2 separate regions of the Homo sapiens genome follow, and region 1 is linked to region 2. The links are contacts of gene promoters, found by promoter capture Hi-C in blood cells and fetal thymus (Javierre and others, 2016). All regions are on one chromosome and are shown on one strand. Each heading gives the region's core, a stretch centred on a gene start or on the middle of the fragment in contact. The rest is flanking DNA. Distances are from core to core; before and after follow the strand shown.

The links. Contacts are between HindIII fragments. The CHiCAGO score rates a contact against its expected background, and 5 or more counts as called.
Region 1: a fragment that was not itself captured here is called in contact with the fragment with the promoter of PPP1R16B in region 2 in 1 of 17 cell types (total CD4 T cells); the score reaches 5.0 in total CD4 T cells.

The regions. Positions count from the first base shown.
Region 1 is chr20:38,471,885-38,476,545 of GRCh38, reverse strand. RALGAPB (Ral GTPase activating protein non-catalytic subunit beta) reads right to left here and starts at 3,703. Exons shown (of 30, transcript NM_020336.4): 1 at 3,477-3,703. RefSeq lists a silencer at 3,423-3,622 and an enhancer at 3,913-3,982. The HindIII fragment of the contact is 1,518 bases long and covers 1,788-3,305 here.
Region 2 is chr20:38,801,928-38,806,965 of GRCh38, reverse strand. It overlaps PPP1R16B (protein phosphatase 1 regulatory subunit 16B), which reads right to left and starts at 1,269. Exons shown (of 11, transcript NM_015568.4): 1 at 1,174-1,269. RefSeq lists silencers at 220-569, 630-849, 1,040-1,419 and enhancers at 1-651, 1,680-1,949, 1,232-2,093, 2,094-2,956. The HindIII fragment of the contact is 16,329 bases long and covers 1-5,038 here.

The DNA of each region.
Region 1 (4,661 bases), core at 1,297-3,796, 330 kb after region 2:
AGGCAAACACAACACAACAATACACAAGACAACCTTTCTCATGGGGAAGGGGTCGGGGGCGAAAGGGGACACCGTCCAGAGGAAGGAGGCCTGCTTTCTAGTCCTGGAGGTGCTAGAAGCTAACCATGTAGCCTTGACCAAGTTACTTTCCGCATCTATAAAAAGTTAGAATGAAACTCCATGCACCTTAATTTTAAAACTTAAATCATCTCGCACCAAAGAAAATCAACTATTCTGCCCAAAAAGTCTTTGCACATGTCAGGAAACACACCTGCTAACACTGATGAGTACCTCGTATTAAACAGAATCCATTTCTAGGTCCCAAGCTATCATGATTAGAGTCACTTTTGTTCTCTGAGCATGTGGAATTTTTCACCTTTACTTTGGGGCACAACTACAGACTTAAACCTTCAGCCTTAAAGATTGAGTTTCTTCCATGTGCTAAAGCAAGAACTGGATACTGTGTCCCTATCTGATCAGACACACAAGGACAAGTTTCTTGAGTATCTGAATTTAACATAAGTTGTCCCATCAGTTTCTATTAGTGCTAAGCCTAAAAACTGACCAAATAATACAAAACGGAACCAAGAAAATTTTTCTATAACAATCCTTATAAAGAATATTTTATGGGCTGGGGACGGTGGCTAATGCCTGTAATCCCAGCACTTTGGGAGGACTAGGCAGGCAGATCACTTAAGGTCAGCAGTTCGACATGAACCTGGCCAACATGGCGAAACCCCCTCTCAACTAAAAATACAAAAAAATTAGCCAGGTGTGGTGGTGGGTGCCTGTAGTCCCAGCTACTCAGGAGGCTGAGGCAGGAGAATCGTTTGAACCCAGGAGGCGGAGGTTGTAGTGAGCTGAGATTGCGCCACTACACTCCAGCCTGGGGGACAGAGCGAGACTGCATCTCAAAAAAAAAAAAAAGAAAAAAAAAATTTTATGAAATGTGTTTTTAATTCAGTCTACATACTTTGTCATGTTTAATTGCTATACAAAAAAAAATCTTTATTGTCCAAAAACCTCCTCATAATGACCTTCACACACATATTCACTAACTTTTGCAAATCCTTACATGGTTTTAAGACCAACCAAGAACAAATCCAATCTGAATTATTGGTCTGCCTTCCTTTAAACTTGTAAATATGGCAAATGGGGCAATGGCAGTTCAGGCATTCTGCAATAAATATGTGCTAAATTTGTCAATTCCTGTGACAACATGATTTTACTCTTCATTAAGTACTTAACGTCCTCTCTCCTGGTGAACAGGACCAAACATTACCAATGGCAATCCCATCTGCTTGTATTTACCAAATACCAACAAGGCAGTGGCATTTAGTGGATGACAACTAAACACTTTTTTGGACAATGAAGTAGGGAACACATGCAAAGGTCTAACAGTAATAAAAAGACTTTCCCTACAGACATGATTGCGTCCGATTGTGATAGAATCAGACATTAAAAATCAAACAATGTTGATTGCACATGGTTAGTTACAGAGTGCCTTGCAATTGGTAAGAACTCAATGTGTGTGTTCAACTGCTGGACAAATTGCTGAACATAACTAGAATACTCACTCCTAAGCAAAAAGAACAAAACTCTATAAGCTGGGAACTACCAAACATCTTTTACAAAAATGGAAATAGAGAAGAATCTGTTCGCAACATGATCTATCTATGACATAAAAGGACCCAAACATTCCACTGAGTAAAAGCTTTGTGAGTCTGTATGTCAAAGCACTGGAAGGAATACAGAGATGAAGAAAACATAGTCCCTGCCCTAAAGCTTCTCATAATCTAGAAGTAGGGATAGAACTACAACTCAGAAAAATAACTGATAAGTTTCACTACGATGTTCCTAAAGAGCAAATTGGAAGGACTCAAGGTGGGTAGGGGTCAGGGACAGAGGTATCTTGAAGGGAATGCTTAAAGCTAATGCAGCCAGAGACAGGAAGAAAAGGGTATGTAGGCCTGGCACAGTGGCTCGCATCTGTAATCCCACCACTATGGCAGACCATAGTGGGTGGACTGCTTCAGCCCAGGAGTTTGAGACCAGCCTGGGCAACATGGAGAAACCCCATCTCTACAAAAAAAATTCAAAAATTAGCCAAGCGTGGTAGTCCCAGCTACTTGAGAGGCTGAGGTGGGAGGACTGCTTGAGCTCAGGAGGCGGAAGTTGCAGTGAGCCAAGATCATGCCACTGCATTCCAGCCTGGGCAACAGAGCAAGACTCTGTCTAAAAAAAAGAAAGAAAGAAAAGAAAAGGGTGTGTATATGCATATAGGAGAGAGCAGAAGTGTGTGCGTTTGGGTGGGATGGCCAGAACGTTCAGAGGATGGTCTAGGCAGACTTCCAGCATATGTAAAAACGACCCAGAGGTTACAGACGCTACACCTATAAGTACTGTATATTTAGGAAAATTGCAAACGAGCAGTTTGCATAAGATGCATACATTTTAAATGTTCCAGATGACTCAGAATCCCTGCAGAGAATTCCATCCCTAACAGTCTTTCACAAGGTGTAGTGGTCAGTCAACCTAAAGATCTCTGCGGGTGGAACCTGCAAGTTTAACAAGCTCCCAGACAATTCTCCTGCACACTTAAGCTGGAGAAAGAGAGATGCTTTTTGAGATGCAGAATTATCAAATTACATGCGGTTCCCAAACTTTGCTGCAAGCTGGAATCACTTGGGCATCTTTAAAAAAAAAATATTGAAGTCTGGCTTTCAACTCCAGACATTCTGATTGTTTTGGTCTGGGATGCCACATGGGCATCAGAAACCTTTACAATTTCCCCCAGGTGATTCTACAGTGTAGCAAAGTTGGAGAGCCACTGCCCTAATTGTTAAGCACTTGGGTCGGATGCTCCGGTTCAAATTACTAGCTATGTGACCTTGGGTAATTAAGTCACCCAACCACCCAGGGACTCAGTTGCCTCGTCAGTAAAATGGGGACAACAATCCTACCTCACAGGGTTGCTGTGAAGTTAGACGTGGAGAACGTAATGGCCTGGCATGATGCCTGGCGGATAAGAAGCGCTTAATGGGGGTTAGCTGTTTACTCCCATCATCAACTCTCCCTCATCAAAGTGTCACTGTGCAATGGGCAGCATCGTCCCCACTGGGCGGCAGCAACTTGCCTAACCTTTCTGCTGGACCAAATTCTTTGCGGGAGTTGTCTAGCTCCGCTCCAGACCCGCCCCCTCCCCCAGGTTGCCAGGAGAGAGCTTCGCCTGGCCGGGGTAGCTCCCAAGGATTAGACCGGGTTTACACAGACTCGACAGCAGCCGCCCACTCCAGGGCCAAGCTTTCCCCGCCCCCGTGGGTCTCCCAAAAATTTGCAGATGAGCTTCCAAAGGCCGGGCCCCTGGAGCACCCAGAGCCGAGAAACAAGCCTCAGCCGTCCCTTGACCGCCAGGTGGGGAAGAGAGGGAAGGAGAGGGGAGGGTCCGGCCGCGGCGGGGCCGGCTGCCCGGTTACCTGAGGCGACGGGCGGGGCCCGCATCGCCGGGGCGGGCGCCGCCGCCGGCCGTCCTCGGCCTTCCGCCTCACGCGACCCGCGCCATAGGGCTGGCGCTTTCACCGCCCTGGCCGGCCGTCCTCAGGCGGTCCGTCAGTCCACCCGTCAGCGACTCTCCCAGGGCGCCAAGGGACGACGAAGGCCACTCGAGCCAGCCGGCTGGGATCTGCTCAGGCAACTTCCGACTGCCAGGGGCGGCGGCGTCAAATAACTCCCCAGCCAAGTGGGCCACTGCGCGTGCGCGGTGCGCCTAATCAGAGCTTTCTACGGGGCTGAACCGGTGGCGTCAAATAATTCCCGAGACACAGAGCCGGAAGCTGCGCCTGCGCAGCTATCCCAGATCGCCGCGCGGGACGCATTGCGTTCCTCCCATTCCGGATCAAGTGGAGAGGGAGGAGTGAAGTGACGGATGCACCTACCTCATCGCGGCACAGAGGAGGCGCTCTACCTGCGTCCTTAGGAATCTTACGGCATCCACTCTACCTGCTTTCGGTGCAGACGGATAAGGGGCTTCTCTGCAAGATTCTGGCTCCCACCTAGGTTCTAGGAATTTCTCCCATCCCACCATTACAGCACTCTTCCTCTGAAATGATGCCCTTTGCTCGCCGCCGTCTTATTACACGGGCACAGCATTAATTATGAACAGTGCTCTATTCCAGGCCCGGTGTGGGTTACAAAGGTGAATCGAACATAAGATTTAGAGCCTCTCATTAAAGAGCTGAATCTGATCGAGATAAGACAGTAGTAATAATACTAAGAGATACTACTTCGAGCACCTGCCATGCGCTAGACATTTTGTAAACAGTACCACTTTCAATAATTTGCTTTCACTTCAACGAAGAAAATAATACCATTGGAGAGGTACAGCTTAAGTGCTTTGAGAATCTAAAGGAGGAAACTTGGACTGAGAAAGAAGAGGAGGGAGGGATGGTGGAATTCTTCACGGAGGACCTGGCCTTGAGACTGACCTTGGGTATTGAGAGAGGGAGGAGGGGTCAGGGTGTTGAGTAGAGGTGAAGGCACGGTTGTCTGAAAAGCAGAAGGGAGCAAAGAAGATTCTGACTCCTCACCTCAGTTAGAAGAGACTATGGAGGAATGAGTGATAAGGGAACTAGTATCCTCACAGAAAGGGTAAAACTGAAGAG
Region 2 (5,038 bases), core at 20-2,519:
AATGCAATCACATGGGCGCGCAGGCAGCTCGGTTTTCGGTTCCTAGAAGCGCTGATGAAGCCACATCCCTCTCCCTCCGCTCCTGAGGTGCCCGGGAGCACCGGGACCCAGGCCTGGCGCGCGGCAGCGGCGCAGCCCTGGGGTCTCAGGAGGGCCAGATTCAAAGCTCTCCCAGGCTCAATTATCCTCCAAGGGCTGGGAGCTGCATCATCAGCATCTCCAGTGAAGCTGGAGGCCGGGCCGGGGTGGGGGAGCGGAGGAAGGGAGTCTACATGGGGGAAGGAGGAGGGCAGCGAGCGCCTGCCTCCCGGCTCTCCACCCGGGGCGGTCTGGGCAGCTCAGCCTGGGCACTCCGGGTGACCTTGGGGAGACCCCTCTGGGCGACCTCTCAGGGGCGGCTGCACGTCTCCGCCCATCCTCGGCGCCCGGGGGCGCTCCTCTGGGCCGGAATCGATGAGCCGGAGTCGCCCAGAGGGGAGCGCTCCTGGCGCGGGGGACCCAGCCGCCGGCGCACGGGGCCCTGGGAGAGGCCGGGCGCGCCCCTCCCGGGGAACTACCACTCGCGGGGTCTCCCCGGGCTGGCTGGTGCTGTCAGCCGGATCCTGAGGCGGGGCGGGTCTGCAGGTGGAGGCGCCTGCCTTGGGGATCTTTCCCGCCCGGGCAGGAGCGCTCTCTGCGCCCTGCCGCTGCCCGCCAGGACCAAGCCCCGCCACGCGAGGGGGCGGCACCACCATGCCCGGCCGGGAGAGTGCGCGGGGGGGGGTTGTTTGGTGTCCGCTGTGGCTCCCGCCGCCCGGCATTGCACCCCCGGCAGACGGCGGCCCCATGAGTCCAGAACAGACCGAGGACCCCACCTCCCCGCCCCAAGATCGGTCTACGACGGCCGCAGCCAACAACCTGCCAATGCGCCCCCTCCCCTGGCCTCGTCAAGGAATTGCGAGGCCGGGGAGAACGCCCCCATTCCAGCCCGACTCCCGGACCTAGCGCTCTCGGTACCCGTCTTTCCAGAGTCCCCACACTCCCATTTATCTCAAGCTATCGTCCCTTGGCCAAAGCGCCCCGGCCCCCAGCTAGGTGATAGCAGGCTGGGACCACCTCCCCGCCCCATCCTCATCCCCCGCCCTGCGAAGCCGCAGAGCGCAAGGAGGGTGGTGGCGCCGCCGGGGAACTCACCCGCTCTCCCGAGCCCTGCCCCGGGCGGCTCCCGACCCCGGCTGTGTCTGTGGGTCCCCGAGCCGCAGCTGCTCCAGCGGCGACAGAGCTGGCTCTGCTCGGCCGCGAGCCTCCGCGCCGCCTCTCGGCTCCTCCCCCAAGGCGGGGCCTGAGCTCCTGGGACTGGGGTGGGCGCGCTCAACCCCATCCGGCTTGGGAGGCAGCGCGGGACAGGGTCCCGGCGCTCTCGGGTGGGGACCCCTCTTCTGAGCTGCAGGAAGTTGAAACCGGTTGGGACGTGGCCAGGCTTCGGAATAGTTTTCCTAACGCTGCCCCCTCCTCCAAAATAGTTTTCCTAACCCCCACCCCGACCATGGAAAGAGGGAAGCCAAGGACGGTATCCCTGCTCCCATTTGACAGACGGGAATCCTGAAGCCCAGAGAGGAGTGGTAACCTGCTCAAGGTCACACAGAATGAATGCCAGGGCCAGGAACTCAGGGTTCCTAGCTTGAAGGCCTGCGCGGCCTGAGTCTGAAGGCTTCCCAGGAGGTCCAGGGGCCGGCCCTGGCCTTGCGCTGGGGACAGATCTGTGGGGCCAGGTCCCCCAGCTGCTGGGGCCGAGACATGGGGGCTGTGGCCTGCGGTGTGGACTCGCATCATTTCCTCTTTCTGGAAAGAAGGGAGGTGAAGCGCTGGAGGAAGGAAGTGGTCGTACCTCTGCTGACGTCTGACGCCCTTTGAGATGTGCAGGATGAAGATAGGGGCTGCTTCCCTGAGATTTAACGCTAAAAATAAAAAGCAAAACATACCCGGTGGCTTCTGTCACCTCATTCAAGCCTCTTTCTGGGGCTGAAGGCCTCTGCACTCTGTGCACCAGCCTTTCTTTACAACACAATGGGTTTAACTATTTAAGTTGCTGAGAGTCACCCCCCACCATCACCACCCCAGGAAGAGAAAAGAAAGTTCATAAACAAAGCAGAGAAAACCTCCCCAAACATTCTCTGGAATCCACATTTGCTGAACCCTGGCCTTAGAACAATAGGTTTCTCTTCTCCACAAAGGCCTTGTTTCCTGAGCTTTCCCGGCCTACAGATGAGAGCCCTAGGCACCCCAGGGCCAGCCAGCTGGGGAAATTCAGAGTTTAAGTTTGGGGAGTTTGGGGATGGTACCCAGTTAATTTGATTCTCAGCTGTCATGTTTGAGGAACTCGCCCGAATCCTTTTTTTTTCACTGGCAATATTCTTTTGAGGCCACCAGCATCACCTGAGTTTAGTGATTTTCTGTTTGCTCAGTCACCTTTCTTGGGGGAGAGAAAATCTGTGGGTTGAACTTGTTCCAGGCCCCCAGGCCCTCTCCAGGAACTCTGTAAGCCCCCTTCATTGGCTCCCTGGCTCCCTCTCAGTTCATTAATAATCCAGTTGTGAATGACACTGTTTCAGGAAAAGCAATTAGACAGTAGAGCATGTGGGGAAGACTTAAAGCCATGTTTAAAATAACCCAAGGGAATCATTGTTCTCCGAAGAATGTTTCCATTGATTGATAATGAAGAGCCATGGGCTGAGAGGATGGGAACCCATCTCTCCAAGGCTTGTGTGGCACTTGGGGCCTGTGTTCCTAAAATAAGGCCTTTGGAGGGAGGGGGCTCCCAACTCCAATGTCATGCTGTTCATTCACCTCTCACACTGTGTTCGGTATCAAAAGTTAAAGTAAATTCAGAATAAGTTGGGGGACTCACAAGTCCTGATTTCAAAACTTACTAGGAAACTTCAGTCATCAAGGCAGGGTGGTACGGGTATAAGGATGGGCATACAGACCAATGGAATAAAACTGAGAGTCCAGACAGAAGCCCTTACACTTACTGCCAATTGATTTTCAACAAGAGTGCCAAGACAATTTAATGGGGAAAGAATAGTGTTTTCAAAAAATGGTGCTGGGACAACTGGATATCCACATGCAAAAGAATGAATTTGGATCCCTGCTTCATACTATATGCAACATATAGATCTAAATGTAAGAGCTAAAACTATAAAACTCTCTGAAGAAAACATAAGCCTAAATCTTCATGACTTTGGATTAAACAGTAGTTGCTTAGATATTAGCACAAGCAACAAAAGAAAAAAAAATAGATAAATTAAAAACTTTTGTGCTTTCAGGGGTATCATCAAGAAAGTGAAAAGTTATGGCTGGGCCTGGTGGCTCACACCTATAATCCCAGCATTTTGGGAGGTGGAGATAGGAGGATTACTTGAGGCCAGGAGCTCAAGACCAGCCAGGGCAACATAGTGAAACTCTGTCTCTACAAATTCTTTTAAAATTAGGCAGACGTAGTGGTTCATGATTGTAGTCCTAGCTATTTAAGAGGATTGCTTTTGCCTAGGAGTTCAAGGCTGCAGTGAGCTATGATGGTGCTACTGTACTCCCGCCTGGGTGACAGAGCAAGACCCTGTCTCTAAAAAAAAAAAAAAAAAAAAATTAAACATAAAAAGAACAAAAAGAGAGTGAAAAAATAACTGTTATAAGCTGAATTGTGTGCCCCCTCACCCCCATTCATATGCTGAACTGTACTGGTTACAGTCTCAGAACCTCAGAATGTAACTGTGGATGGAGATAAGGTCTTTAAAGAGGTGATCATCTTAAACTGAGGCCCTTGGATGGGGCCCTCATCCAATGACTGGTGTCCTCATAAGAAGAGACACTAGAGATGCGCCACACAGAGGAAAGACCAGAGGAAGGCACAGGGAGAAGAAGGTTAATTACAAACCAAGGAGAGAGGACTCAGGGCTGGGGGACCAGACCTGCCAACACCTTGATCTCAGAATTGTAGCCTTCAGAATTGTGAGGAATAAATTTCTGGGGGTTTGTTTTGTTTTGTTTTTTTGACATAGAGTTTCACTCTGCTGCCCAGGGTGGAGTGCAGTGGCACGATCTTGGCTTACTGCAACCTCCACCTCCCAGGTTCAAGCGATTCTCCTGCCTCAGCCTCCTGAGAAGCTGGGATTACAGGTGCATGCCCCCACGCTCGGCTAATTTTTGTATTTTTAGTAGAGTAAGGGTTTCACCATGTTGGCCAGGCTGGTCTCAAACTCCTGACCTCAAGTGATCCACCCACCTCGGCCTCCCAAAGTGCTGGGATTACAGGTGTGAGCCACCGCACCCAGCCAATTTCTGTTGTTTAAGCCACCCAGTCTATAGTATTATGTTATGGCAGCCTTGGCAAAATAATACAATATCCCACAGAACGGGAGGAAATATTTGCAAATCATATTCCTGGTAAGGGACTTATATCTAGAATATATAAGGAACTCTTACAACTCTATAATAAAGAGACAAATAATAAAAAATGGGCAAGGAGCCTGGGCAACATGGCAAAACCCTGACTCTACTAAAAATACAAAAAGTTAACTGGGCATGATGGCATGGGCCTGTAGTCCCAGCTACTGGGGAGGCTGAGGTGGGAGGATTGTTTGAACCTGGGAGGCAGAGGTTGCGGTGAACCAAGATCACACCACTGCACTCCAGCCTGGGCGACAGAGCGAGACCCAGTCTCAAAAAAAAAAAAAAAAAAAAAAAAAAAAAAAAAGGCCAAGGGATCTGGATAGACATTTCTTCAAAGAAGATAGATATACACATGGCCAAGATGCTCAACATCATTAGCAATGAAGGAAATGCAAAGCCACAATGAGATACCACTTCATACCCACTAAGATGGTTATAATAAAAAAGATAGGCAATAACCAGCATTGGTAAGGATATGGAGAAATTGGATCCTTCATACATTGCTGGTGGAAATGTAAAATGGTGCCGCTGCTTTGAAAACCAGTATGGCATTTCCTCAAAATTTAAAACATAGAGTTGCCAGATGACCCAGCAATTCTACTCCTAGGTA